Linked DNA regions of Homo sapiens: all the other regions are linked to region 3. The links are contacts of gene promoters, found by promoter capture Hi-C in blood cells and fetal thymus (Javierre and others, 2016). All regions are on one chromosome and are shown on one strand. The core of a region is centred on a gene start or on the middle of the fragment in contact, and the rest is flanking DNA. Distances in the headings are between cores, read along the strand shown.

Region 1 (3,234 bases), core at 88-2,587, 270 kb before region 3:
TACCACCCACCCGAGCATCTGTGATGGGGCTTTGGCAGGGTCTGTCTGTCTGGGCCTGAGTGTGTGAGTTGGTGTGGTTCTGGCTCTGGGGCTGTGATTTATGTGACTCAAAGTTGGTGTGTGAGTGATTTACATGGAAAATGGTGCAGGTGGGGTGGGCAGCTCAGTTCAGTACCCAGTGCCCACTATGAGGCACTGTGATTAGTGGGTGAGAACAGGTAAAAGATACAGGCTGAGGCTGGGTGCGGTGGCTCAATGCCTGTAATCCCATCACTTTGGGAGGGCAAGGCGGGCAGATCACAAGGTCAGGAGTTCGAGACCAGCCTGGCCAACATGGTAAAAACCCCATCTCTATTAAAAATACAAAAATTAGCCAGGCGTGGTGGCACGCCTGTAATCCCAGCTATTCAGGAGGCTGAGGCCGGAGAATTGCTTGAACCCGGAGGCGGAGGTTGCAGTGAGCCAAGATCCCACCACCGCACTCCAGCCTGGGGACAGAGCGAGACTCCTTCTCAAAAAAAAAAAAAAAAAAAAAAACAAGCTGGTAAGCATGTAGGCAATGATGTGGGCCTGTGTGTGAAATGTGCGTGCCTGCGAGGAATCTATGTGAAAAGGCGTCCTCCCGCTCCGTGACTTGTTGGGATGTATGCGTGAGTGAGGGGCTGAGTGTGGTGTGAGGGCTGTCTCCTGTGTCCCTGGTGGAGGTGAGAGTTTGGAAGCGAGTTAAGTGTGCATGTGAGCCGGTGAGGATTGTTGGTACTTCAGAGTTGGGTCCAGAGTGTGAAAGTGTTCCCGGGTAGCGCACAAGTGTGTTCGTGCAGTAAAGTTATGGTGTGAAGGTGTTCTTGGGTGTGGAAGTTGGCGTGCACGTGTGGCGCGGAGCGGCAGCTGCGTGCGTGTGAGCGTGGGAAGGAGATCCCGGGATCTTCAAAAGCTGCGCGAGTGGAGTCGGCCGTGCGGGGCGTGCAGGGGCGTGGAAGTCGGCGGCGCGCGCGGGGAAGCGGGGGAGCCGGGGATCGGGGAGGCGAGAGCGCCTGGCCCGGCGGCCCCATCCCATGCCCGGGCCCGGGCCCCCGGTCCCCCGCCCCGTCCCATCCCATACTCCAGGCCGGGTTTGGCGGGGAGCCGGGCCGGGCCGCGGCCCGCGCGGAGGGGGCTGGGGGCCCAGACAAAGGCCTAGTAGGCTGCGCGGCCGGCTGGGGCGAGCAGAGCCCGCGGCCCGGGGGCGGTCCGTGGGCGGGGCCTGGCGCTCCGGGGAGGGGCGGTTCGGGGGCGGGGCCGGCGCTGCGGGGGCGGGGCGGGCGGGGAGGAAAGGGGGCGGTGGGGAGAGGGCCGCGCTGTCCCGAGCTGGCCGGCGAGCGGGCGGCTGCGGGCGGCGCGGAGCGGGCGGCGCGGAGCGAGCGAGCGAGAGAGCGGCGCGGGCCGGGCCATGGGGTGGCGGGCGGCGGGCGCGCTGCTGCTGGCGCTGCTGCTGCACGGGCGGCTGCTGGCGGTGAGTGTGCGGGGCAGAGGGGCGGGGGGCGGGGGCGGAGGGGCTAGGGGCGCCCCGGTCCCGCTCGCCGCCTCCCGCCAACTTGGCTGGGGCGCCCAAGGCTGCGCGGCGGGGACTCTGGCCCGGGACGGCGGCGCCCGCCGGGGACCCCGGGCCGGCGCCACCCTGCGGCATGGGGCTAATCCAGGGGGGCCACCAGTCAGGACCCTTCGTGGGGCTGGGGGCGGGGCTGGCCCGTGTGGGAGCCCGTGGGTCTCTCGGCCACGTTGCCGAGTGCTGGAGTCTCGCTGGGCATGGTCCGGCCTACCATTCCTGGGGACCAGGAGGGGAAACTTTGAGCAGGGTGGGAACTTGGCAGGACGAGGGAACCCTTCTGCGCCAGCTTGGCAGAACGGCCACTCAGTGGTGATGGGGACCCTATGAGTCTCGCTGAAACTTTACCACACCGTCTATCACCTTGGGGAGCTTGGACCCAGGTAGGCACAAGCAAAACTTTTGGGACAGAACTGAAGCTTGTGTGGAACACCCACGGGCCTTGGAGTCATACAGCCGAAGAGTTGAATCAATCCCTGCCTTTCACTGAGTAACTGTGTGACCTGGGGCACGCTAGTTAACCTCTCTGAGGCCAGCCCCACGTGGGTCAAGGGAACTCAAAATGCACGGCCTCAAAATGCATAGCTGCAGGGCGTTGCTGGACTGCGTGGAATGAGCTGCAAAGTGCGTGGTGCGGGGATGCAGTGCACCCTTGGGGGACCCGAGTTCCCCAGCTTTCCTCTTCCCAGGTCTCCAAGAGGCAGGGAGAGGCCTGCCCTTGCAGTCTAGTCCCCTACTCTGAGCTTAGGTGGAGGAAAAGGGAATTCTACGGTCAGGAATCCCGAGGCTTAGAAGGCACTTGGCCAGCAGAGGCCCTGAGGACCTGAGTGAACTTGAGGAGGACTGGGTGGGGTCGGTGGGCAGGGAGCTAGTGGCAGATGTGGGTGGGGGCACATCTGGGGAGCCGAGCCTACCGTGGGGAGCCACAGAGCCACCCCCACTCTCTCCGAGGTGCTCCTAGGCAGTCCCCATACCTGCCTCCCTGTTCTCTGAGCCAAGAGAGGGACTTTTCTAACCAGGCTGGTGTTTACCCAGGAACTGCCTGCCTGGCCTCACCTTCCTGGCTTCATCGCACCTCTACCCTCCTGAGTCACTCGTCAAGCCCCCACCCAGACCTGGCTCCTCACTGCTCTTGCCCCACCCACCCAGCACTTCTCCTCCCCCATCCCCACTCTGGGCAGCCTCCTCTGTCGTCCTCCTGTTTCAGCCTCTCACCCCAAAATATTCAGCAGGGCCATCCAGTAGCTCCCTAGTCTTGACCTGAACTTGCACTCCTGGCACTGACTTTTACTTTTCCCAACGCACCAACCTAGCACGTGGGATGTTTTCCGAGGCCCAACAGTCTTTCCTGACCTTCCCCCAGCTCTGCCCCCGATGAGGGGCTCCTCCATGCCCGGGTGCGGTAGGATGGCGGTGGGTGGAGTTGTTTGCTGTGTGCATGAGGAATTTCCACAGACATTCCTGGACCGTGGCAGATCATCTCATTCACTTGTTCATTCAACAGATCATCACTGAGCGACATTCCATGGCAGTCACTGGGAGTACAGAGGTTCATTCTTTGGGCAGATATTTGCCATGCACCTACTGTGTGCCAGTGAACCAGTGAACCTCGTGTGGTGCTAGGGGCTGGGGTGGGTTGGACCAGCAAG
Region 2 (3,181 bases), core at 650-3,149, 380 kb after region 3:
GTCCTATGAGGGAGGTACTATTGTTATCATCATCCTCCTCATTTGACAGATGAGTACTGAGGCACAGAGAGGCTGAGTCACTTGCTCAGGGTCACAGAGTTGGGAAGTTCAGACTGGGGATCTGAAATGAGGTTTAGATCCAGAGATTTTACCCACTACATTATAGCATCTGTGAAATATAAGTGTTTAGCTACCAGATAATATGAGTGTGTTTTAGATGACATGTAAAGATTGAACAGATCCCAGCCAATTACCAGCACCAAAAGTAGTAACTGATGGGGACTTCGGCCACAAAGGGCAGCGTCTCTAAGGAGCTGAGGCTTAGAGACAATGTGAAAGTAGCTGTGGAGGGTGTGGCTCAGTCCCAGGCCTCAGAATTTCACATGTGGGGCTTCCCTTTTCCACCTCATCACCCCAAGATGACTTAACAATCCCCCGCCTTTGGCCAACCAAACGCAAGAGCCATATGAGTGACTAATGTCGTCTGGGCAAAGGGGGTCATGCCCAGGTGCTACCAGGCCAGGAGGCTTTTGTCGCCAGAAACCTGTGCGTGTTTATATTTCTCGTTTCTGCTCACCACAGGCCTTTGATTTACAAGGGTGGAGTTTCCAGAGCTGGGCACTGTTGCACCTTCATCTGGCTGTCATCACTTCCTCTGTGCAGCTGGGGCACCGGGGACTGAGGACGGGGCAGTCCACAGGGAGCTGTGGTTCCACCCCTTCACTCTTGGTTTCTGCCAGGCCCTCCTCTTGAACACTAGACCCAGATTCAACCCAGATTTCTCCTCCACGGCTGCACAGTGCCAGGAAGGGAACTGAGAAGACCAAAGTGGAGGTTCTTTACCTTCCCCAACACACTCGGGGCCAGGCGTGGCACCCACAACTGCAAATGAGACAATTAGGGAGAATAAGTGCTGGCTGCCCTGTCAGCCCAGAGCCTCAGTCTGCCCAGGGCACCCAGACTCTGTGAGGTTCCCACCTGAAGAAGCAGTTCCATCTTCCACAAGGAGCACAGGACCAAGAGTCCAGGACCCAGGTTCGAGGCCCAGCTCTACCACTTTCTCGCCGCGGGGCTCGGGTTCTCTGGAGGCAGCGTAATGGAGTCAGTGGGTTTGGCAAGGGGAAGATTCGCATTATGGCTCCCTCAGTCTCCAGGCAGGTGACTCAGGGCTGGGGGGAGGTCCTTTCTCCTCTCTGACCCTTGGTCATCTCATTTGTAAAGCGGAGGTGATGATTCTCATCTCAGGGACGAGGCACTGTGGGGTTAGGAGAGAATTTGTCAAGTGGCATGGTTGGTTTTTGGTCTGTCTAGGCCCCTCCCCCTCTCTGTAAGCTGGAAGCGGTACTTGTGAGGCTGAGGCTCTAGGTGGGTGTGGGGAGCCATTGGGGTAGTGAATGGAAGGCCCTGGGCGAAGGGCCCCAGGCAGCTGTTGAAATGTCACTCACCCACTGTGGACTTCCCACCAAGCAGAGCCCGCCAAGCCTTTCCCGTCTGAGGTGGGTTCAGTTTCACTACCGGGCTGAGGCAGGCATCTCAGGAAGGGGCCCTCGGCTTTTGTGTGCTGAAAAATAACCAGGCTCCATCTCTGCTGATTTCTGCTTGGGAGTTCCGTGAGCTTCCTGCATCATCTGTCCACAGACAGGCTGCCGCAGGGTGGACATCAGAGTCCCTGGGGTGGCTTCCGGCCTCCCTCCCTTGCCTCCCGCCTTTGCTCAAACATCTGTAGAGGCTCCAGCCCCAGACTAAGCCCTTAAGGAGACAGGGTCCCGTGAGACCCAGCCTCTGCCATCAGGGTTCTCCTGTCTAAAATGCTGTGTGCCTCAGTAAAAGGCAGCATGGGGTAGGGTGGCTGTGTGGGGACACAGAGCCAGGGACCAAATGCTGTCTGGGGTCCCTGGAGGGTGGTCAGGAGAGCTTGCCAGAAGGGGGAAATCTCTGAAATGAGACAGAAGGAGGAGGAGCCATCGCTTAACCACACCTGGGCGAGTTAACTTCCCCAAGCCTCAGTTTCATTCTCTGTAAAAGGAACCAGTGATACCTGCTTCTGAGGGAAGGGTGAGAAGCTTAAAAGAGATGGTATAAAAGAACTGACAAATCCCGTACACCAGCCGGGTGAATCCCTTACACCACCCACATGCCCCGGGGAGATGTTCTGTGAACTGAACTTCTTTTTCAAAAGTCTTTTCCTCTGGCAATCGACACCTGGTAACGTAGTGTAACCAAGTGTCCTGTTCTAGAAAAAGCCCAGCTGCAACCCAGCAGTAAGTGAAGCAGCCTCAGAGTCCCCTCTCTCTCTGGGATGGGTAATGGAAACTCCTCCACCCAGTGGGAGTGAGGCAGAAGTCTCCAGAATTCAGAGCTTTCCCATGCACCCTGCCTCCCCAGGGCCTGTGACCTTTAGATGTGTTCCCTGTTTCTGTAGGCATTATGAAGTTAGATGCAGGAGAGTTCTTGAGAACTTGAAGGCACTTCCCCTCTACTTGTCCCCCCTTTGATTTTAACAACCGTTTGTTGAGCACCTACTCTGTGCCGGGTGATGGAGAGTCTCTGTTGGACAGGCCAGACAAGGTCCCAGCCCCAGTAAAGCTGTGGATTCTGGAGAGGGACAGAGACAGTGATGATAAAGACATGGAAACAAAACAGTCTGCAACAAGTACTGTAAAGGAAAACAAACAGGATGCTGTAACAGAGAATTTGGGGGACTGCTTAGGGTTCCTGGGACATTTGAGGAGCTGGTAGGCTGAGATCTGAAGTTGGAGCTGACCATGGGAAGAGTAGAGAGGAGGAAAAAATGTTCCAGATAGAGACAACAGCAGCTACAAAGGTCTTGGGGGAAGAAGAAACTTGTAGAAACTGAGGAGTTGTGTGAGGAGGTTGGTGGGGGAGGGGGCGCTGGCAGCACAAGATGAGGGCCCAGAGTGGGCAGGGGCCATGGGGCCTGGTGAAGGGTTTGGATTTCATTCCAGGACAGTGGAGGGTTTTTAAGCAAGGGAGTGGTAATATCAGAATTTTTTTTTATTTTATTTATTTACTCAGACAAGATCTTGTTGTGTCGTCCACGCTGGAGTGCAGTGGTGCAATCACAGCTCACTGTAGCCGCCACCTCCTGGCTTCAAGCGATTCTCCCACCTAAGCCTCCCAAGTAGCTGGGACTACAGGCGCATACCACCACGTCCTGCTA
Region 3 (3,203 bases), core at 381-2,880:
CTGAGTCTACAGACCGCTCCTGCACTCTTAGAAGTTTGAGAAACCCCCCTGGGCTGGGGTCTCTTTCCCATATACAGCTAGGGAAGCTTGCTGGAGGGAGGACTGAAAAGAACAAGTGCCTGATCTACCTTCCCCTCTGCCCTTTCACAGGTGGGTGGATGCGTGGGAAGAGGGTGGGGCATTTCCTGCTATTCCCCCTTATTCACCTTTTCTCCACGGGGATTAGAGTCTTGACCGGAAAACATGGCTCTGGTCCCCAGCCCCTATGGGACTGAAAACCCGGAGGCTTGCATGTCTCAGATCCTCCAGAGGCTGATGTAAGAGTTGCTGAAGACCTCGGATCTTTCCTTTTGTGAAATGCAGCCCATGTGGCCGGGAAAATAGTGGGAGCTGGAAGTAACAGTTGTGGTTTTAAGCACACAGTAGATGCTCAAGAAATATATTGAGTACATGTCTTGGACTTTCCCCTCCCTAAATATTATCTGTCAAGTGGGCCTATTGGACTTGTTGACCTTGGAGGGCCCTGTCGGCTTGACCCACCAATTCGAAATGGTTGAGAAAGAGGTCTGTCTTTGTACCTTTTGCAGCCTGTTTTCCCAGTTCTTAGAACATTGGGGTGAGATCCAGAGATTTCAGAGATCCCCCTGGAACACGAGTGTTCTGTGACGAGTTCATGACCTTGGAGCCACCAACCATACCCCTCACCCGTTGTCCCCAGTTCTGGCCTTGCCGACCCACTGCGTGTTTCTTTGCTTCATGTGGGCTGTTCCCCGGGGAGGGAGCTCAGTGGAGAACAGAAAGAGGTGTGGGTGAGGGCTCCCCCTTGGTGGGGAGTGGGGCACAGGAGCCTCAGGCTCTGTTGACCATCAAAGAAGGGACTCGAGTGGGCAGGCCGCTCACTTGCTGTGGACCTTGGGCAAGTCTCTAACTCTCCCTGGGCCTTGGAAGTCAGGCCGAGGTGATCTCTGCCGCCCCCTCCCTGCCTGGGTTTTCACTCTTGTTCTGATCCCACTCTCTTCCGGGTGCCTCCCTTCCACTTCTCCGTAGCCTGTGGCTCCCCTCCCCACACCCGCCCTGGGCCCGGGTTAGGCTGGGGCGGGGGCGAGCTGCCCAGTCCAGAGACAAAGTCCAAGAGCCGCGAATGGGCTGGCGAGGGTCAACCGCGTGGCCTCTGCCAGGAAGCGCGCCGAGCGCCCGGGTGAGGAGGGCGTCAGCCAGGGCACAGCAGCTTTCTCGCCCAGCGAAGCCTGTGCGCCTTCCTCCCGCGCCTGCAGACAAGCGGAGCCCATGGGGGCCGTGGGCCCCACCTATCCCGACGTCTCCACTTGATCCAGAAGTTGTCCCAGTCCCCTTGGAGCATGAGCTGTTGCCTGGACAGCTGGGCTGTCGCCCAGGTTCTGCCACTGTCTAGCTGTGTAACCTTGAGCCAGTCCCTGCCCCTCTCTGGTCCTCAGTTTCCCCACCTGTAAAATGGGGGCACCGAGAACCCTCCTCCAGGACCTGCGGCGGGGCGGGGCGGCAGGGCGGGGGCCTCCCCGCCGCTCCCGCGCCCGCGGCTTGGGCTCCGCAGTGAGTGGGGAGCGGCGCCGGGGAAGGAGCGCTCCGCGGTCATGTGACGTCCCCCTCCCCGAACTGCGGCGGCGGCGAGCGCCGGCCGCATCTGAGCAGAGCTGCAGCGGCGGCCGCGGGCACCAGAGTGCCGAGCCCAGGACGCCCCCGGCCCAGGCCCTTGGGTGAGTGCGCCCCGCCAGGGCTGCGGCCCTGGAAAGGGGAAGGGGACAGAGGTGTCCAGACTCCCGTCGGCTCGCAGCGAAGACCCCGCGCGGGCGGGCGGGGACGGAGGGTGGGGGCGAACGCGTGGGGGACCCGGGTCTCCAGGGGCGAGGGGTGGGCGCAGCTGGGCTCGCGCAGCCCGGTCTTGACAGCAGCTGGAGAAGTGGGGGGAGGCCTGGACTGAGCCGGCTGAACCCCCAGCCTGTTGGACTTGGTCCAGGCCGCGGCCAGGGGGCTTTGGTCCCACCCCCCTGGGTGGGTGGGGAGTCCAGTTTTCCGCCCACCTCGAGGTGGGGGCGCCTGGGGTTTAGAGGAGGGACTGTGGGAAGTGGGCGCGTTTCCTCCATCCCTGGGGAGGGGCCCAAGCCCTAGCGCCCCCCAGAGGGTGGCGCTCCTGTCCTCAGAGGAGGGAAGTGGGGGCCTCAGATCAAGGACCCTGAGCGGGGAGGGCGGTGATGTCCTTGCATCCCCAGAGACAGGACGCATTCCCCTGTCCCTGACCCCCGCGGCAGAGCGGGGCACACGCGTCACGAAGTTGGGCGCCCCCTCGTCGCCTCCCCTGGCTCGGCAGGATCTGAGGACTCGGTGGGAATTCACGGGGCGGTTTCCGTGCCCTGCAGGGTTTGGTGCCAGCTGCGGGGCGCCTGGGCTTGGGGAAGAAACCTTGTGTACGCACACCTGCACACACACACAGTCTCCGGAGGTGAGCGGCCCCCTCCCTACCATAACAGACCCCAGCCTGTGCATGCCCTCGGAGTCCTTGTTGGGGTCATAGCACAGGCCCGGTGGTGGGGTCAGGAAGAACATCCACTGTTCTCAGGGCTCATTGGCCTCTGTCCCCGGGCTCCATTCCCCTCCCTGCCAAGTCAGAGGTCAGGCCCCTGGGGCGGCAGGCAGGAAGGACACTGAGGGAAGGGGCACTGAGGCAGGAGGGGCACTGAGGGAAGCTGGCCAGGTGGAAGTAGGAGAGAAAGGCAATGGGGGTGAGATGGTACCACTTCCTCCCCATATGAGGCTCTCAGGAGGCTCCTGGCCCCCCCTGCACAGGTAGTGGTCCCTCCTTCCTGAGGGTGTTTGGGGGAAAACGCTATGGTTGGGGCACTGGGGAAGGTTGCCTCGCAGATGAAACAGAACATTGGCCAAAGGTGTCCCTGAATGGGCTTCTGGACTGGCACAGGGCCCTGAGGGCTGTGGCTGAGTGGGGAGGCAGTGATCAGGTCCAGCTGGCCATGGGGGCCCCCCATTCCCTTCTCCATGACCTCAGCCTCACTCTGAGAGCCCCCAGCAGCTGGAAGGTCTGGTAAGGGGTGCGTGTTCCTTGATGGCCTTGGGAAGGGTTCCAGGGTAATGATTAATCCTCAGGTGGCACGAGCAATTTCCCCCTTCACAGCAATATTTCAGGGCAGGCGCTGAAGCCTCCATTGCACAGG
Region 4 (2,996 bases), core at 340-2,839, 380 kb before region 3:
GCTGCGGTGGGCCAAGATCGCGCCACTGCACTGCAGCCTGGGAGTGCAATATCCATTATATTTAGTAACGTCTTTGAGACCCTGTCTCAAAAAAAATAAAAATTGTGATCTCAAAATTATGAAAATATTAAGTTTTTTGCTTAAAGATCGAAGTCTCGTTTTTAATAACAAAACTAAAATGTCTAGCATAGATCAGGCATAAACTGATCCTCTTTTCAACACAACTTCACCACAAAAAGTGCACTTGAATCAACCTAGGGAGATTCCCAGCATGCAGTAAGTCATAAAGGAGAATAAACAGTCTGGGAAAGTCATTTTGGACCGAAAAGTGTTCCCACAAATAAACCCACCTCATTCTAGTATAGTCAAAGGGACCTCTATTTAAAGTTAATGCCACGCAAGGGGCCGTGGACGGTGTTGTCTTACACTTTATTCCCTGACACAAACTAATCCTGGGATTTTAAACCTTCCTAGCTTTTAGGTGCACTGAAGGCGGTCATGAACACAAGTAACAAGCTTTCAAAACATCATCTGTGAATACGACGTGTTGGGAAGCAGGCAGGATAAGCCACTGGGTGACCGACTAAGGCTGCAAAATGCTGTTTGAATTTAAGTCCCTGACTTGTAGGAGTTAAGTCTCACTCCTTATACCGCGATGACGTAATCTTCCACACTACATTTATCTTGGACTTAAAGGGGAGGAAAAACAAACGAACAAAGAAAATTCCCCCCCGATAAGAGGAATTAACCAAGCAGCAGAACGACGGCTTCGGGAGGTAGTTAGGTAACTCCCCGAAAGGGAAGCTTCAGCTAAACCGGCAGGGAGCGGGCTGGAGGAGCGGATGGAAATGCTAGGAACTCGACCTCCGAAAGGAAGAGCAGCCTGGAGGCCGTGGCTCGGGGCCACCCCGCCCAGAGGACGCGGCCGGCGCGGAGGGGAGCTCGGACAGGCACCGCCGCGAGCAGCCAGCGAGCTGCCCTCCTGCCACCGCCCCGCCGCGGCCGCAACGCCACTCCCCTCCCCCGCCCCCCCACCCCCGCCGCAAAATGTCCGCGGCGGCGCCCGGCGAAGCAGGAAGTCCAGGCCGGAGCGCAGGGCACGGAACGCAGCCTGCCAGCACGGAAGACCGGCGCCCGGCCCGGCCCAAGCGCCCGCGAGTCGCTCTGAGGCCCCCGGCCGCCCTTAGGAGCCCGCCGGGCCGGGCTGGGGGGAGGGGAGCCCGGGCGCCCAGGATGGGTGTGACCCCCTTCCTTCCGCCGCTGCCGGTGACAGCCCGGTCCCGCTCGCGCCCCGAGCCCCGGCCGCGCGCCCCTCCTCAGACGGGCGCCCCCTGCCTCCCCGGCCGCGACCCCCGCCCCGGCTCCCCCACAGAACGCGGACCCGCGCCCGCCCGGAGGACGCAGCGCGAGCCGGGCACTCCCCCACAACCCGTGCTCCCGGGCCCCCCACGATCCCGCAGACGGGGTGTCCCCGAGGACTGGGAGAGGACGGAGACGGCGGGGATGGGAAGGTAGGGTGGCAGCTCCCGCGGGGAACCTCGGGCCCCGCACTCACCTCAGCTTCTCCACCGGGGCGTTGGCAGCACTGCGCGGGGTCTCCTCGGCTGCCGGACAGGGGCACGCACCTGACGTCAGCGCGCAGGAGACGCACAGTTGGGTGCCCGCGGAAGTGGGAGGAACAGGGAAGGGGAAGAGGCTGGGGCGGGTCAAGGCGGTGCCTGGACTGCCCTGGCTCCGCCCGCCTGTCGCGCACGCGCGGGCCGGCGCAGCTCGTGAGTTCGGGGCTATGCTCTGCATGTTTTCCTAATGGTTGTATTTGTAATAATACTGTGAACGATAGTATGCAAAGCGCTTCCTCTACCAGTTCTTTTTTGTTTGTTTTTTCTGAGACAGTCTTGATCTGTTGCCCAGACTGGAGTGCAGCGCGCGATCTCAGCTCACTGCAACCTCCACCCCTTGGGTTCAAGCGATCCTCCTGCCTCTGCCTCCCGAGTAGCTGGGATCACTGGCACCTGCCACCACGCCAGGCTAATGTTTGTATTTTTAGCAGACACGGGGTTTCACCATTTTGCCCAGGCTGGTCTCGAACCCGTGACCTCAAGTAAGTGATCCACCTGCCTCGACCTCCCAAAGTGCTGGGATTACGGGCGTGAACCACCGCGCCCGGCCCACTACCAGTTCTTTTGATCCTTGCAAGCTTGTGAAGCAAGGTATTGTCCCATTTTGCAGAGAAGACGGAAGCTTCTCTGAAAGGGCTGGTGACTTGCCCCAGATCACAGGGGTGGATGGTCTCTCACTCCCCGGGCCTGTATTCAGTCCGCCGTGATGTGAGAACTGAGTATCACTCTTCTTATCTCTACCTACACCCAGTGTCCCTCGCTGTAGCCACATGGGTCTTTTTTAGAGTTACAACCTTCCCCCAACCACAGGCCTTGTGTTTTTGTTGTTGTTGTTGTTGTTGTTGTTGTTGTTTTTTCTTTGAGACGTTCTTGCTCTGTCACCCAGGCAGGAGTGCAGTGGCACGATCTCAGCTCACTGCAATCTCGACGTCCCGGCGATTCTCCCACCTCAGCCTCCCAAGTAGCTGGGACCACAGGCGCATGCCACCATGCCTGGCTAATTTTTGTATTTTTTTGTAGACACAGGGTTTTGCTGGATTGCCCAGGCTGGTCTCGAACTCCTGGACACAAGCTATCAGCCTGCCTCAGCCTCCCAAACTGCTGGGATTACAAGGTGTGAGACATTACGTCTGGCCAAGGCCTTGAATTTCTTTGCTCTGCCTCCCTCCTCTTCCCCCAAATTTATATCACTGCATTCTTCAATCATCCTATCTTCGCAGTATCTATTATTTGTCTTCTCTGCTAGTATGAAAGCTTCAGGAAAATAGAGAACTTCCCTCTCTTATTCTTAGATGTTTCCCCATGTTAGAGAAAAATCGCTTAAATTGCTTATCCTAGGCCGGGCACGGTGGCTCATGCCTGTAATCGCAGCACTTT

The links. The method cuts DNA at HindIII sites, captures the fragments that hold promoters and counts their contacts. A CHiCAGO score of 5 or more calls a contact.
Region 1: a contact is called between the fragment with the promoter of HSPG2 here and the fragment with the promoter of RAP1GAP in region 3, in 1 of 17 cell types (megakaryocytes). The highest score is 5.0, in megakaryocytes.
Region 2: a contact is called between the fragment with the promoter of ECE1-AS1 here and the fragment with the promoter of RAP1GAP in region 3, in 3 of 17 cell types (M0 macrophages, fetal thymus and M1 macrophages). The highest score is 6.5, in M0 macrophages.
Region 4: a contact is called between the fragment with the promoter of CDC42 here and the fragment with the promoter of RAP1GAP in region 3, in 4 of 17 cell types (megakaryocytes, M0 macrophages, non-activated CD4 T cells and 1 more). The highest score is 8.2, in megakaryocytes.

The regions. Positions count from the first base shown.
Region 1 is chr1:21,935,413-21,938,646 of GRCh38, reverse strand. It overlaps HSPG2 (heparan sulfate proteoglycan 2), which reads left to right and starts at 1,337. Exons shown (of 97, transcript NM_005529.7): 1 at 1,337-1,492. The coding sequence starts at 1,430. RefSeq lists a silencer at 949-1,298 and an enhancer at 2,046-2,887. The HindIII fragment of the contact is 13,080 bases long and covers 1-2,006 here.
Region 2 is chr1:21,292,008-21,295,188 of GRCh38, reverse strand. It overlaps ECE1-AS1 (ECE1 antisense RNA 1), which reads right to left and starts at 1,899. Exons shown (of 3, transcript NR_038404.1): 1 at 1,446-1,899; 2 at 979-1,255. It also overlaps a transcript of ECE1 not described here. RefSeq lists enhancers at 323-482, 1-1,021, 1,863-1,952. The HindIII fragment of the contact is 8,029 bases long and covers 1-2,065 here.
Region 3 is chr1:21,667,784-21,670,986 of GRCh38, reverse strand. It overlaps RAP1GAP (RAP1 GTPase activating protein), which reads left to right and starts at 1,630. Exons shown (of 25, transcript NM_002885.4): 1 at 1,630-1,733. RefSeq lists an enhancer at 1-910 and a silencer at 1,559-1,708. The HindIII fragment of the contact is 8,301 bases long and covers 89-3,203 here.
Region 4 is chr1:22,051,302-22,054,297 of GRCh38, reverse strand. It overlaps CDC42 (cell division cycle 42), which reads right to left and starts at 1,589. Exons shown (of 6, transcript NM_001791.4): 1 at 1,556-1,589. RefSeq lists enhancers at 32-600, 601-1,168 and silencers at 881-1,060, 1,071-1,290, 1,351-1,500. The HindIII fragment of the contact is 1,393 bases long and covers 807-2,199 here.